4 separate regions of the Homo sapiens genome follow, and all the other regions are linked to region 3. The links are contacts of gene promoters, found by promoter capture Hi-C in human tissues and cell types (Jung and others, 2019). All regions are on one chromosome and are shown on one strand. Each heading gives the region's core, a stretch centred on a gene start or on the middle of the fragment in contact. The rest is flanking DNA. Distances are from core to core; before and after follow the strand shown.

Evidence for each region. The method cuts DNA at HindIII sites, captures the fragments that hold promoters and counts their contacts. A contact is called where the count stands out against the background at its distance.
Region 1: a contact is called between the fragment with the promoter of ZNF530 here and the fragment with the promoter of ZNF814 in region 3, in 4 of the 25 tissues and cell types used here (heart left ventricle, small bowel, spleen and 1 more).
Region 2: a contact is called between the fragment with the promoter of ZNF550 here and the fragment with the promoter of ZNF814 in region 3, in 1 of the 25 tissues and cell types used here (spleen).
Region 4: a contact is called between the fragment with the promoter of ZNF773 here and the fragment with the promoter of ZNF814 in region 3, in 2 of the 25 tissues and cell types used here (IMR-90 fibroblasts and spleen).

Annotation. Positions count from the first base shown.
Region 1 is chr19:57,598,434-57,601,425 of GRCh38, forward strand. ZNF530 (zinc finger protein 530) reads left to right here and starts at 1,452. Exons shown (of 4, transcript NM_001321981.2): 1 at 1,452-1,701; 2 at 2,295-2,346. RefSeq lists enhancers at 1,500-1,709, 1,800-1,919. The HindIII fragment of the contact is 9,316 bases long and covers 1-2,992 here.
Region 2 is chr19:57,558,609-57,561,709 of GRCh38, forward strand. It overlaps ZNF550 (zinc finger protein 550), which reads right to left and starts at 1,255. Exons shown (of 4, transcript NM_001397372.1): 1 at 1,048-1,255. The coding sequence starts at 1,074. It overlaps LOC124904781 (a long non-coding RNA gene), which reads left to right and starts at 1,334. Exons shown (of 2, transcript XR_007067357.1): 1 at 1,334-1,510. RefSeq lists enhancers at 297-376, 521-1,385, 827-876, 1,363-2,562, 1,507-1,616. The HindIII fragment of the contact is 8,093 bases long and covers 1-3,101 here.
Region 3 is chr19:57,887,070-57,890,311 of GRCh38, forward strand. ZNF814 (zinc finger protein 814) reads right to left here and starts at 1,968. Exons shown (of 3, transcript NM_001144989.2): 1 at 1,698-1,968. The coding sequence starts at 1,733. RefSeq lists enhancers at 112-844, 869-1,412, 1,413-1,955, 1,629-1,678. The HindIII fragment of the contact is 24,676 bases long and covers 1-3,242 here.
Region 4 is chr19:57,498,321-57,501,315 of GRCh38, forward strand. ZNF773 (zinc finger protein 773) reads left to right here and starts at 1,618. Exons shown (of 4, transcript NM_198542.3): 1 at 1,618-1,793. The coding sequence starts at 1,761. The HindIII fragment of the contact is 9,164 bases long and covers 1-2,995 here.

The sequences.
Region 1 (2,992 bases), core at 202-2,701, 290 kb before region 3:
AATGTTTTGTGTCGACTTGCCTGCATTAAGGGCTACCCAAATAGTTGGGAAAACCTTAGTACAGGATATGTCTGTGAGAATGTTTATGGAAGATATTAGCAGTTGAGTCTGTAGACAATGTAAAGGAGATCTGGCCTCATCAGTGTTAGGGGCCAACATCCAATGCTTTGAGAGCCAAGATAGAACAAAAAGGCAGAGAAAGAGCAAGTTACTCTCTTCTTGCCCTGGATCATCCACCTTCTGTTTTCCAACATTAAAGTTCTTGGATCTTGGGCCTTTGGACTCTGGAACATACAAGAATGACCCTCACCCAGTTCTCAGGCCTTCAGCCTCCAACTGGGAATTTCACCATAGGCTCCCTTGGTTTTCAGGCCTTCAGATGCAGACTGAATGATACCACCCACCTTCGTGTCTTACCAGGTTGCAAAAGGTATATCCTGGGACTTCTTAGCCTCCATAACTGGATGAGCCAAGTCCCATAATAAATCCCCTCTTGTACATCTATGTATCCTATTGGTTCTGTGTTTCTCTGGAGAATCCTGACTAATACAATAGGTTTCAGTAATTTTCATTTCACAACTGTTTTTCTAAGATGATCTCAACTCCCCATGCAAGCACTGTCCCTGCAGTAACAGTATCAATGATCAAAATTTCCCATCAAAGAGATGAAAGCTAGGTGTCCCAAACCTTTATTCTGGTATTCTGATGTCCCCTTTGCACAAGTGCTCTGACTGTGAACACTACAGACACTGTTCTACTTTAAAATGGCATATGCTAAGTGGCTCTTCTGTTTAGAAAGTTGCTACAATCCTAAAAGAAGCATATCTAAGAATATGGAGGAAGAAATATTATATGAATACAACACTGTTCCTTACAGGGCTAGACACACTCACCGATTACACAGGCAGGAGAGGCATTTTCTGTGAGACAAAATTCCTCTTTCGTCCTCCAGCTTCGGTGCGATCTAACGGATGTTTTATCATTCCTGTCATGGCGCTATGTAAACTCTATTTCCCTTATTCCTTACTGAGCATAATGAAACTCACAAAGCTGACTCTAACGTTCTACTTTACATAAATGTGTGGAGAAAGAAGGTAATGTTTACTAGGCTCTCGCCAAGGGTAGAGGCATTTTGTATCTGAATAACTCTGACTACCTAGGTGACTAGTTGTACACAATACCCTCCAAAAATCTCTGTATGGTACCTTAAAAAAGCAGCGAAGCTCCTCCCTTGTCCAAGGAGGCTGGAGACACCACCTCTCAGCCTTCCCCTCCACCTTTCTCCATAGCAACGGGGTCATTCCTCCCTGAGGTCCAGGAGAAGGGCGACCTCTGCCAGCCCAAGAAGCGGTGAGAACTACATTACCCAGAGGCCCGTGAGCCAGGTTCTTGGCGTGGAGCCAATGAGGCTCAGGGGAGGGACATTTCCGCTCTGTCCAACTTGTCGGAGCGGAACTTCCGGCGTCCTCCCTGTGGCGGGCACTTTGGCTTGTGTCAGTTCCATCCGCGGGTGCCGGATCTGGACCTAGGTGCTGACAGCGAGAAGGCGCGAGGAGAGTCGTTTTCTCAGCTGCACAGCCGGGGCCTGACGGTCGCCGGCGGTGGTGACAGCTTTGCTCTTGTCTCCGCCCGGATCGTCCACCGCTCCCGGCCCGCTCCGCCCAGAGTCCGATGGCGGCGGCACTGAGGGCCCCGACCCAGGTGAGCGCTGCGTCCTCCCGGCCTCCTCTGCCCTCCCCACCCGAAACTGAGGGACGCGTGAAGGGTTTTCTGCAGCCCGGACCGCACTGTCCGGCACAGTGAGGCGCTGGTGCTGGATCTCGTTTCTGGTAGTGTGGCAGGGAGCGGGAGAGCGACACGGTCAGGGGGCTGCGCGGGCAACAGCTTGGAGCTGCGCCTGAGCCGGGAGGCTGGGGAGACCCAGGCCGGCCTCACGCGTGCAGGTAGCAGAGGGTGGGGCAGCGCCGCGCTGCATTGGCCCCACTGAGTTTCACCAGCACACTGAGGGCCACAGCGCGTAGGACAGAAGAGGGGCACGGCCCCAGTCACGCTTCTAAAAGTTTCACAAAAGCTGTTCAGAGGAACGCGCTGGAAGGGCAGTGATGATAGCAGGCATGGAGGGACCTAGTCTTTTTACGAGGTCACAAAGCTGGTAAAAGTCAGCACCAAGGACTGACACCCAGATACAAAGCAGTCATCCCTGGACACCTGGCTCTGGTGTTCCACATTGGAACCAGAAGTCCATGGAGCCACACTTTGGTCACCTGCCTCTCAGAACATGTTTCCTCCCACAGATTGCCACTAGTACTTACAGGTCCGTAAGAAGCACTTGAAGACCCTACAAGGGTAAGTGGAGGAAATCCAGAAGCTCATTGATTCCAGCAATGGGATCTCTAGGATTGGGACTGTGGTGACCTGGGATTCTTTACTTACCGCTTTTCCAGGCCTTGAGCCTAGGGACTCTGAACAAAAATATGTCCAGGGTGAGTATTATATGAGGTGGTGCCTGTTGCTGGCAAATAATAGGATGAATGTGGAAGTTTGTCCCAGAGATAAGTACAGGTGTTTGGAGCTGCTTGGAGGTGAGGCTGAGCTGGTTAAGAGAACCTCAAGTCTCATTTCCTTCTCATGGGAACAGAGAGCAGAGGTACAGGAGTTAGAAACTAAATGGCTGTCTCAGATGTCTTTGTTCTGGAGATGATGGCAGCAATGAAGATTTGGAGCAGAAGAGGGAGGTGATCTTCCCCAGGCCTCATGAGGCTCCTGTGGCTGAGCACAGACAACAGACTGTGGGTTTAAGGGAGTTGGTAGCAATACCAAAGAGGAAAGAGGAGACTACTGCAATAGTCCAGGTGAGTGTAGATGATGTGGGCCAGAGTAGTGGCCACAGTGTGGCAGAAATGGTTGAATTTTGGATTGTAGGTCGGCTCTGATTTTCTGGTATTGGGACTGAGAGATAAGAAGGGGTGACTCAAGGCTTTTTGAGTTTAGT
Region 2 (3,101 bases), core at 5-2,504, 330 kb before region 3:
AGATTCAGATGACAAGAAAACAGAGCAAGGAGACCAAAGAGACTCTGGTCAGCTTTAAACGGTGCAACAGACGAGACCTCTTTAAGCAGCGGACACCAGAGGGAGTCAGAAATAAAGCAAAGGAGGGAGAGGTGGATGAGAAATTAACAACTACGACAGGAGCTGACAGTAATCTGGGCTATCATGAAAGTAATCAGAGTGACTGCTAGAGAGTAACCCTGGGCCTCATGTGTTATCTCCAAAGGGACACTACATCCTGCATACCATCGCCACTGAACATTTTAATGGACTCGTTTTTCACCTGTAACTAAATGTCTTAAACAGGAAAATATACTGTTAGTTGCAACCCAGCGTCCCTTGCCCTAAACTGAAAGACAAATTCCTCAGCCTGCCCTACCACCTTTTCTGCCCTGGCATAGCAGCAACCGCAGAAACGCTCCTCCCACCTCTTTCAGCCGCTGCCCTTCGTGTTGTAGAGACAGGAGGCCAAGGAGGCCAGAGGGTCAGACTCCTGCTGGGGTTGAGTCTCCAAACCTAGCACAGGCCCAGGGAGCAGCTCCGGAAACAACATCCTGAGCGACGTCCCCGGACCGTGCTGTGCACTGAGACGGACACACACACATCACCCAGGGAGCCGTTCAAGCTTCCTCAACCCCGGGGGGGGGAAGAGTAAATATTTCTACTTTGCGCGCGCAAAAATGAAGGACGAGGACAGTAACGGGACTTGTTCAAGGTCGCAGGCCCGAGAAAGGACATGGTTGGAAGAGCCACGAGGAGGACTGCGGTCGCTCCTCTCACCTGTGAGGGGTTCCGGGACCCTAAAAGCCCTATTTCATACCACAACGCCGCGCACCCCAGAAACGGGGACGCTCCCCACGCCACCGCGGGCCTGCATTCCGGACCCGGGACCGCGCGACCCCCTTCTAGGCCTCTAAGAAGCAACGGCAGGGACTGCACTGAGGACGACCCTGAAACGCCGTCCTTCCGCTCGTCGGGCCCGGGACACTGAGGCCGGGTGGCCGCGGGGAGCCGAGCCAGTCTGCTCACCTGCGCTGCGTCCTTCGTCTCCGCCATCCGACCGTTGGCAGGACGAGGCCGCGTGGGGCAGCTCCCACGGGCTCAAAACCCTACCCCGGGTCCTACAACGGTGCGGAGGTGAGCCCCAGTCGCCCTACCATCCTTCCCAGCACAGTTCTGAGAGCGCGGACCAACACGCCCCACCACAAACGTCCACGCCAGCGAGGCCGGAAGTCCCGCCCCTGTGTCGCGGTCGCCTGCCACGCCTTTTCCTGCGCCGGCCCACTGCCTTCTAGGTAATGTAGTCTTGTCCCGTAAGAGGCCAGGCTTGGCTCTTTTTCCTTTTTTATTATGCACACCATGTTTCTGTATATCTCAGATGATCTTAGCGGAGCAAGTGTACACACTGGATTGTAAATTTTTAAAACTTCCTATTATTCGGATGCCTCAACGTCCCTACAAGCAGGCTGTGAGCACTCGCCCAGGCACCCAGGTAAACGAGTTTGATAAAGGGGGCCCTGCCACGAGGTTCCCCGCTTGCCTCCTCTGAGTGACCCAGTGACATTCCCATGTACCAGTAAAATCTTACGCCTGGTTACTGCGTCCTCCTCCACCCTGACGCCAGGCACTGTCCCTGGGACTGGCGTGGATCTGGACCCCCGCTTCCCGCGTGGAGCCATTCCCGGGACATGCTCGTGGGGTTCCGTCTGTGGGACGTCTGCCTCCTCTGTGTGGACTGGTGTTGCCCAGGGCTCAGGAAGGTCTCCAGGGGCCGTGAGTCCCCGCCCGCTTCCGGAGTCCAGCTTCGTGACACCATCGTGAGAAAGAATGCAGGGATGAGTCAAAATGAAGCCAAAGGCAAGAAGCTTTTATTGGGAAGAAAAAGTACACATTTTTGAGAAGAGTGTACTTTTCCCAAGAGAAGAGGGAAATGCGGACGTACGAGGGAGAGCGGGTCATGCACAATGGAGTTTGGGTTTCTAATTTTATGGGCTCTTCTAATTAGGGGGTGGGATAATCATGAGGTTTTTCTAGGAAAAGGTGGGAATTTCTTAGAATTGGGGTGCCAACCATTTTTATACTAAATGTGGGCGTGCTTGGATTGGCCTGGCACTGGTGGGTGTGTGATTTAATGTGGCAATGAGTGTATAATTAGGTCTGGGGTAGGAAATGGGTCAAATCTAGCGTCATGGGACAGCCTAGCCCCAATCCTGTTTGTTAAGGTCTCATCAGCCCAGTCTTCTTGTTGGAGTAGCTAATTTTAACAGCTTGATGTTTTCCCCCTTCTCCTGTGACCACACAGCATTCCTATTTTGTGGGTGTTTCTTTAATTAGAGAGTGGAATAATTATTAGGTATTCTGGAAAAGGAGGGAAATTCAGGGACCCACCTGGTTACTGCCCCCTTTCTCTCTTATTTGGCTTTGCCCAGAAGAGTCATGGACATGTCATCCTGACTGGGATTTTGGCCATTCTTTCTCTTATTTTGGGTTTTCTGTTATCCTATGGTTTCTTTGCCTAGTTCTTGTTTTTATTTGTTGTTCGAATTTTTCCATCCTCCTGCAACCACCCAGTGCTATTCCTATATCACTGTGAGTATAAACACCCTTTAACCTTATAGGCTTCTTGAAGTATAATTCCCAAGACCATGTTGCAGTGGTCCTTAAAGAACCAATAAGGCAGAGAGAAACAAACATGTTCCAAATTTTGTTCTCAGGAGTAAACCTTACTCAATTGTTAAAGGCTGTAGCTAGCTCAAAAGAAGTTTCCTTGACTCTGAAAAACAAAACAAGGATCAGCAATGTTCCAAGCAAAAGTCAAAAAGATTATTTCAGTTTTTCTATTAGTTCAGCCTATTCTGTTAACTCTTGTTCTGCTTGATATTTATAAACATTTTAGCTTTTCATGAGTCCTGTATGTTTTTCAGTTATCAGAAACCTGCATTTAGGAATACCTGTTAAAGTATTCCTACATCTGATTATGAACCATATTTTGAAGAGGATTAAAACAAGACAACAATTGTCTGTAAATGACAAAATGTCCAGGGTGGTTAGTCAAAAACATGATTGACAAAAAAAATTTGGTT
Region 3 (3,242 bases), core at 718-3,217:
TCCCAGCTACTGGGAGGCTGAGGCAGGAGAATCGCTTGAACCCGGGAGGCAGAGATTGCAGTGAGCCGAGATCACACCATTGTACTCCTGCCTGGGCAACAAGAGCGAAACTCCGTCTCAAGAAAACAAAACAAAATAAAAAATAAAGACTACATCTAACCAGGTAAGGTCACAAACAAGGAAACTCTTCCACTATCAGTTCTCACCAGAGTATTCTGTAACTGTAAAAGATTAGGCCTTCAGCAGCTCAAAACTCAGCATCTGCTGCCTAAGGCTCTGCCACCTCAAAGACTCTTCCTTGTAAGACTGCAGGCCAATTGCCCACCAACTGGCCCAGACCAAGATGCCTTTTGTCTTCCTTGCTCCCTCTAAACTGGTTCCATAACGTTTGCTCCTATATCTTTTTCCTCTTGATGCTAAGCATTATTTTGTTCCTTGTGTTGTAATGCCCAACCTTGTTTTCACTAATCCTGTTTTTAGACTCTCCCTTTTGCTCTCTTAATCACCTAGCCTCGTTTCCACATGAATAGACTCTCGCTTAGCTGAGAAAGCCAGACGAGCTCCACCTGGCCCCCTTGATTTACAAGACATTAAGGACTCCTTACCCACCCCCCTTTCCTCAAGGAGTTAACTTGTGTAAGCAGATTCTCAACATATCAAAGGAGTCCAATTAACTGATAAGGGACTGGGAACAAACCATGTATGAAGTTCCCAGGATTTTGCTCAAAAGATAACACCATAAAGCCTTGAGTTTGTGTCTGGCGTAGTGCCCATATCTAACTCTTATGAAGGATTTAGAGCGCCACACCTGGTACCTTGCCTTTTTGTAACCATTTGTCTTTTAAATTGTTTGTTTCTCTGTAACCATTTATCCTTTTAATTTTTTGCATGTTTTTACTTCTGAAGAGTTGTTGCATTTAAGCTCCCCTCCCCTTCCTAAACCAAAGTATAAAAGTTAATCAAGCCCCTTCCTCGGGGCCGAGAGAATTTTGAGCGTTAGCCGTCTCTTTGGCCGCCAGCTGAATAAAGGACTCTTAATTCGTCTCAAAGTGTGGCGTTTTTCTAACTCGCCCGGGTACAACAGTGTTATGTTTAACCTTTAACATTTACATGTTAAGTATACTATTGTGTATTGTTTGCTATATTGACTGACTTGGGGAGTGTCTTCAGCCTCTGTGCCCATGGCCAACTACCAAGTGAACTGGAATCACAAGAGAATTGCCTCCTTCGAACTCCATTTAGCTCATGGCTTTTGTTGACTCAAATATCACCTGACACTGTGCAAAGACACAAACATGCATGGACCTGATTATCTCTACCCTTACAATGCTCATGACATCCCTCCTTTCTTCGAAAATCTCCATGCCTTCTAGGGTCCTCACGTGAGTTCATAGCCCCCAGCCTGCTTGCTCTTCCAGGAGGAGCTCCGCCTCATAATTTGCTCCCAACAGGCACCTGTGGACCCCAGATTCCATCCTTCTGGCTCAGTTCACTTCCAGGCCTTTGCCCGCGCCAGTCCCTGTACCTGCCGGTCTCCCCACCGCATCCCACGGGTGTCAGAAATGGGGCCCCTCCCGCAAGCGCCTCAGTGTCCCAACGCCGGCGTCCGGGCTGCAGAGCCGTGAACAGGCGCTGCTACCTCGCTGCTTTTGGGTGACGATGAGGTGACCTGAGGACACAGAAGGCCCCACAATTACCTGAGCGGAGAGCCTCAGCGTAGCCGCGGCAGCCATCGAACCACGTGGTTTTAAGCAGAGTCGGGAGGATAGGGCGACCAGCCAGGAGATATGGGCACGACGGTCCGTATCCTGGCCCAGGAGTGGGTCACGCTGGGCGCCGTCACAGAGCTCCAGAGTAGCCTCTGTGCAGCGGAGGACAACTGCTCCCCGACTTCTGGGTTCAGTCACCACAGTGCGGACCTAGCGCTCAGGAGCCTCTCCTACAAATAAATCCAACACCAATCAAAATGGCCGCCACCAGAGGGCGCCGGAAGTCCGGACCCATTGTCACGTGCACACAGGAAACGCCTTTATTCTGAGCCCTCAGAGGTCTTCTACGCTATCATTCGAGGCTGAGTTTTCTGGGTAATGTAGTTCCCTAGGCAACAAGGAGGGTAAAGGGCGCAATTCCCAGAGGCGCTTCTGCAGGAAAAGCCCAGCTTCACCTCGGGAGTATCCTTAAGATGTGCGTCCTGACTGGTATGGTGGCTCCCGCCTGTAATTCCACCAGTTTGGGAGGCCAAGTCACAAGGATCATTTGAGGTCAGGAGTTAGAAATTAGCCTGAGCAACAAAGCAAAATCCTGTCTCTACAAAAAATAAAAAATATTAGCGGAGTGTGGTCGGGCGGGCCTGTGGTCCCAGCTGCCCTAAGGTTGGGGTTAGGGTTAGGGAGCCTGAGGAGGGAGAATCGCTTGAGCTCAGGAGTTCGAAGCTGCTGTAAGCCGAGATCGTACCACTGCATTCCAGCCTGGGCAACAGAACGAGACCTCTTATCTAAAAAATAAAAATAAGGGCCAGGTGCGGGCGGCTCACGCCCGTAATCCCAGCACTTTGGGAGGCCGAGGCAGGTGGAACACCTGAGGTCAGGAGTTCAAGACTGGCCTGGCCAACATGGTGAAACCCCGCCTCTACTAAAAATACAAAAATTAACCCACATGGTGACATGCGCCTGTAATCCCAGCTACTGGGGAGGCCGAGGCAGGAGAATCTCTTGTACATGGGAGTCAGAGGTTGCGGTGAGTGAGATCCTGCCACTGCACTCCAGCCTGGGTGACACAGCAAGACTCCATGTTGGAAAAAAAAATAAAAATAAAAATAAAAAAATAAATAAAAGATTGCAGATCTTTCTCCTAGGCAGAGGATCATCCTGCCTCTCCTTAGAACTCACATTGAGATTTCTTGGGGTTATTGGCTGTAACTGATTACCCTAGTGTATGGAAAAATATTATTTCAGAGTTAGTGTAGATGTTCCCAAAGGCTACAGATCCAAATTCACCTATCATTTCAGATGGTCCTTCAGATGCAAAATTCTTCCACTGGAAGCAAAGATTAATGCAAAGATTAATAACCATTATTGTATTGTTAAAATGAACGTGTAAACACCCAGAGGGTTCATTTTTCCTACTGCCCAGATAAAGCCAATTTATCAGGACAGGGAAATTGCAAAAGAAAAAGAGTTTTATTCACACAGAGTTGGATGAACAGCATACTGGAGTCTTACTAGTATTACTCAAATCAGTCT
Region 4 (2,995 bases), core at 368-2,867, 390 kb before region 3:
AAAACCAGAATTCATTGAAATAGGTATGCCAAGAATGCATAACACAAAATATATGTAGGTTCTATTTTATCATTACAAAACCAGAGCGATATTTTCTTTTCTTTTTTTTTGTTTTTGAGACGGATTCTCTCCCTGTCGCCCAGGCTGGAGTGCAGTGGCATGAACTCCACTCACTGCAAGCTCCACCTCCCGGGTTCATGCCATTCTCCCGTCTCAGCCTCCCGAGTAGCTGGGACTACAGGCACCTGCTACCACACCCGGCTAATTTTTTGTATTTTTTAGTACAGACGGGGTTTCACCGTGTTAGCCAGGATAGTCTCGATCTCCTGACCTTGTGATCCACCCGCCTTGGCCTCCCAAAGTGCTGGGATTACAGGCGTAAGCCACCACCTCCCTACTCTTTCTACCCAATAAATATGAAGGTCTGTGGAAGCTCAGGGCCCTTCCTCACTAGAAGCAAGAAGCCCCCTGACCCCTTCTTTAAAACAGATTTATTTTGCCTTTGTTTTCATTTCTGCATTCGTTCCCCTTCGTTCAGTCCCATAGTAACTGTGACAGGAATATGGAGCAGAAATGGATGAAGGGGAGAAATTGAGGGGGAGTTGGCTTATGGGTTTGCTGCCTGTTGTTGTGCCTTTACACCAATGTTGGGTCCTTGAGGAAGGAAAGAACACAAATGAGAATGGGGTGAAAGAGGAACGTAAATCCTTGGGCTCCCCTACTCTCTCATCACCTACATCCAGAATTCAGAGCCTTTTCTTATTATCATACATCAGGCATTAATATTGGGTGTCCCCTTGCCAAAGGAAATTTAGGAAGGTATACGTGGCTTTGCCCAGTGAAACCTCTTTATGGTGGCCCTGAAGATCCTCTTCAAGTCCTTCAAAAGAAGGAAAGATTGGAGTATCAGCTGCAGGAAACTGAAATCCAGGCCCATCTCCAATTACAACAGGTTCCAGATGAGTCCGAGAGTTCTCGACACTCATTTCTCCTCCATCTCCTACTCCATCATCTCCATCTCCATCTTCTCCATCATCTCCATCTTCATCATCATCTCCATCTCCATCATCTCCATGTCCATCATCATCTCTATCTCCATCATCTCCATCTCCATCATCTCCATCTCCATCATCATCTCTATCTCCATCATCATCTCTATCTCCATCATCTCCATCTCCATCATCTCCATCATCTCCATCTCCATCTCCTACTCCATCATCTCCATCTCCATCTTCTCCATCATCTCCATCTTCTCCATCATCTCCATCTTCTCCATCATCTCCATCTTCATCATCTCCATTTCCATCATCTCCATCTCCATCATCATCTCTATCTCCATCATCTCCATCTCCATCATCTCCATCATCTCCATCTCCATCTCCATCTCCATCATCTACCGTCTCCAATCTCCATCTCCGAAGTTATGCCCACTTCCTCGAAGTTTGGAGCCACGCGAACTACACTGCCCAGAAGGCGCCGCGCCGTGAGCCGCGATGCTTGGCCAATGAAAAGAGGTCTACCCGAGAGTGCGACGCGCAATGGGCGGGACTTCCGGCGTCTCCCCTCGGCGGTTGCTTTCGCTGCCCTCAAGAGAACTCAGCTTGCCGGAAGCTGGTTGTTCGCTGCGGCGACCAGCTCCGGAAAGCGCGGTGGGGACGCGCTGTGTTCTCGCAGCTCAGAGGCGGGTCTGAGGCTCGGTGGCGGCGCCCAGGGTGGCCCGGGCCCTTTCCTCGGTCGTTGTCTCACCGCCACAGGCTCCGATGGCGGCGGCCACGCTGAGGGACCCCGCTCAGGTGAGCGCCGCGTCCTCCCGGCCTCCCCCGAATCCTAAAGCCCTGTGAGGGCCGCCTGCTCAGGTCCCCGGGTGCAGAACTGTGGGGCGTTCGTGGGCGGCGTCCCGTTTCTGACACGCAGTGTGATGGGGTGGCAATGGAGGGCAAGGGGCCCGGCTCGCAAAGATGTGAGGCGCATTCAGCGAGTCCCGAACCTGAGGCCTCCTGGTGTCTGTAGTGGGCAGCTTGGGAAGGGACGAGGCGCGTGTCGAGCGACAGCCCGAGCAGCTGCGCTTTCATCCTGAGGGGGCCACAGTGGCCGCGGAGGGCTGGAGACAGAAGAGTGACAAGATCTGTTTCTCAAAGTTTGCCAAAGGCCCTTCAAGTCAAAACAGACTGGGGTGGGGGTGAGGCGGGTGAAGACAGACCTGTGAGTAGGTAAATTCAGTAGACTAGTGGAGAGTCTACTGGGACTGGGCCACAGAGGAGGGGAAGTGATCAGATCTTGGATGGATTTCAAAAACTGAACAGACGGGAATTCCTGTTGCATCAGATGTGACTGTGAAAGAAAGTAGGGAATGAAGAGCCATTCTGGATTTTTATTTGTATTTTTGTTTGTTCCTGAATATCAGGAAGGATGGAGATGGGTAAGGCTGTGCAGGGAATAGGTTTTGGGCATGGTGATCCTGAGATGTCCCAGAGTGGAGGTGTCATGTCCACATGAGCAGCTGGAAGGCCTGGGGCTCGTATTTAGGAGGGAGAATCTTAAAGTTTTCTTTCAGATGGTCCCTGAGGTGAGGGAAGGGAGAGATGGGCCTGTAGGATGGGGCAGCCTCTACAGCCTGGAGTTTCGTGGTCCGAAGTGATTTTGTCTGGTGCCTGCAGGAATGGAGGGTTATAGAGTATGAACACCCAGGACTGGATGGAGACCGCAGTGTTGGGTAGTATATAGGTTTGCCACTCCAGGCTTAGTAGTTCCTCATGTCCAGTCCATATGGAGAAAAGGAAAGGTCAGCCAGGCTGGTGGAGCAGCACCTTTGGTGCCTAAGTTTCCCTAGCTATCAGCACAGGTGGGATGATCAACTGCTCCAGTAGAAGGGAGGGCTCTCAGCAGGATGGTCTTCAGGGGAGTATATAGCAGGCAGCCAGATTGCCAAAAGGAAACCCACATTGTCTTTCTTTTTCTTTCTTTTTTTTTTTTTTTTGAGACAGAATTCTGCTCT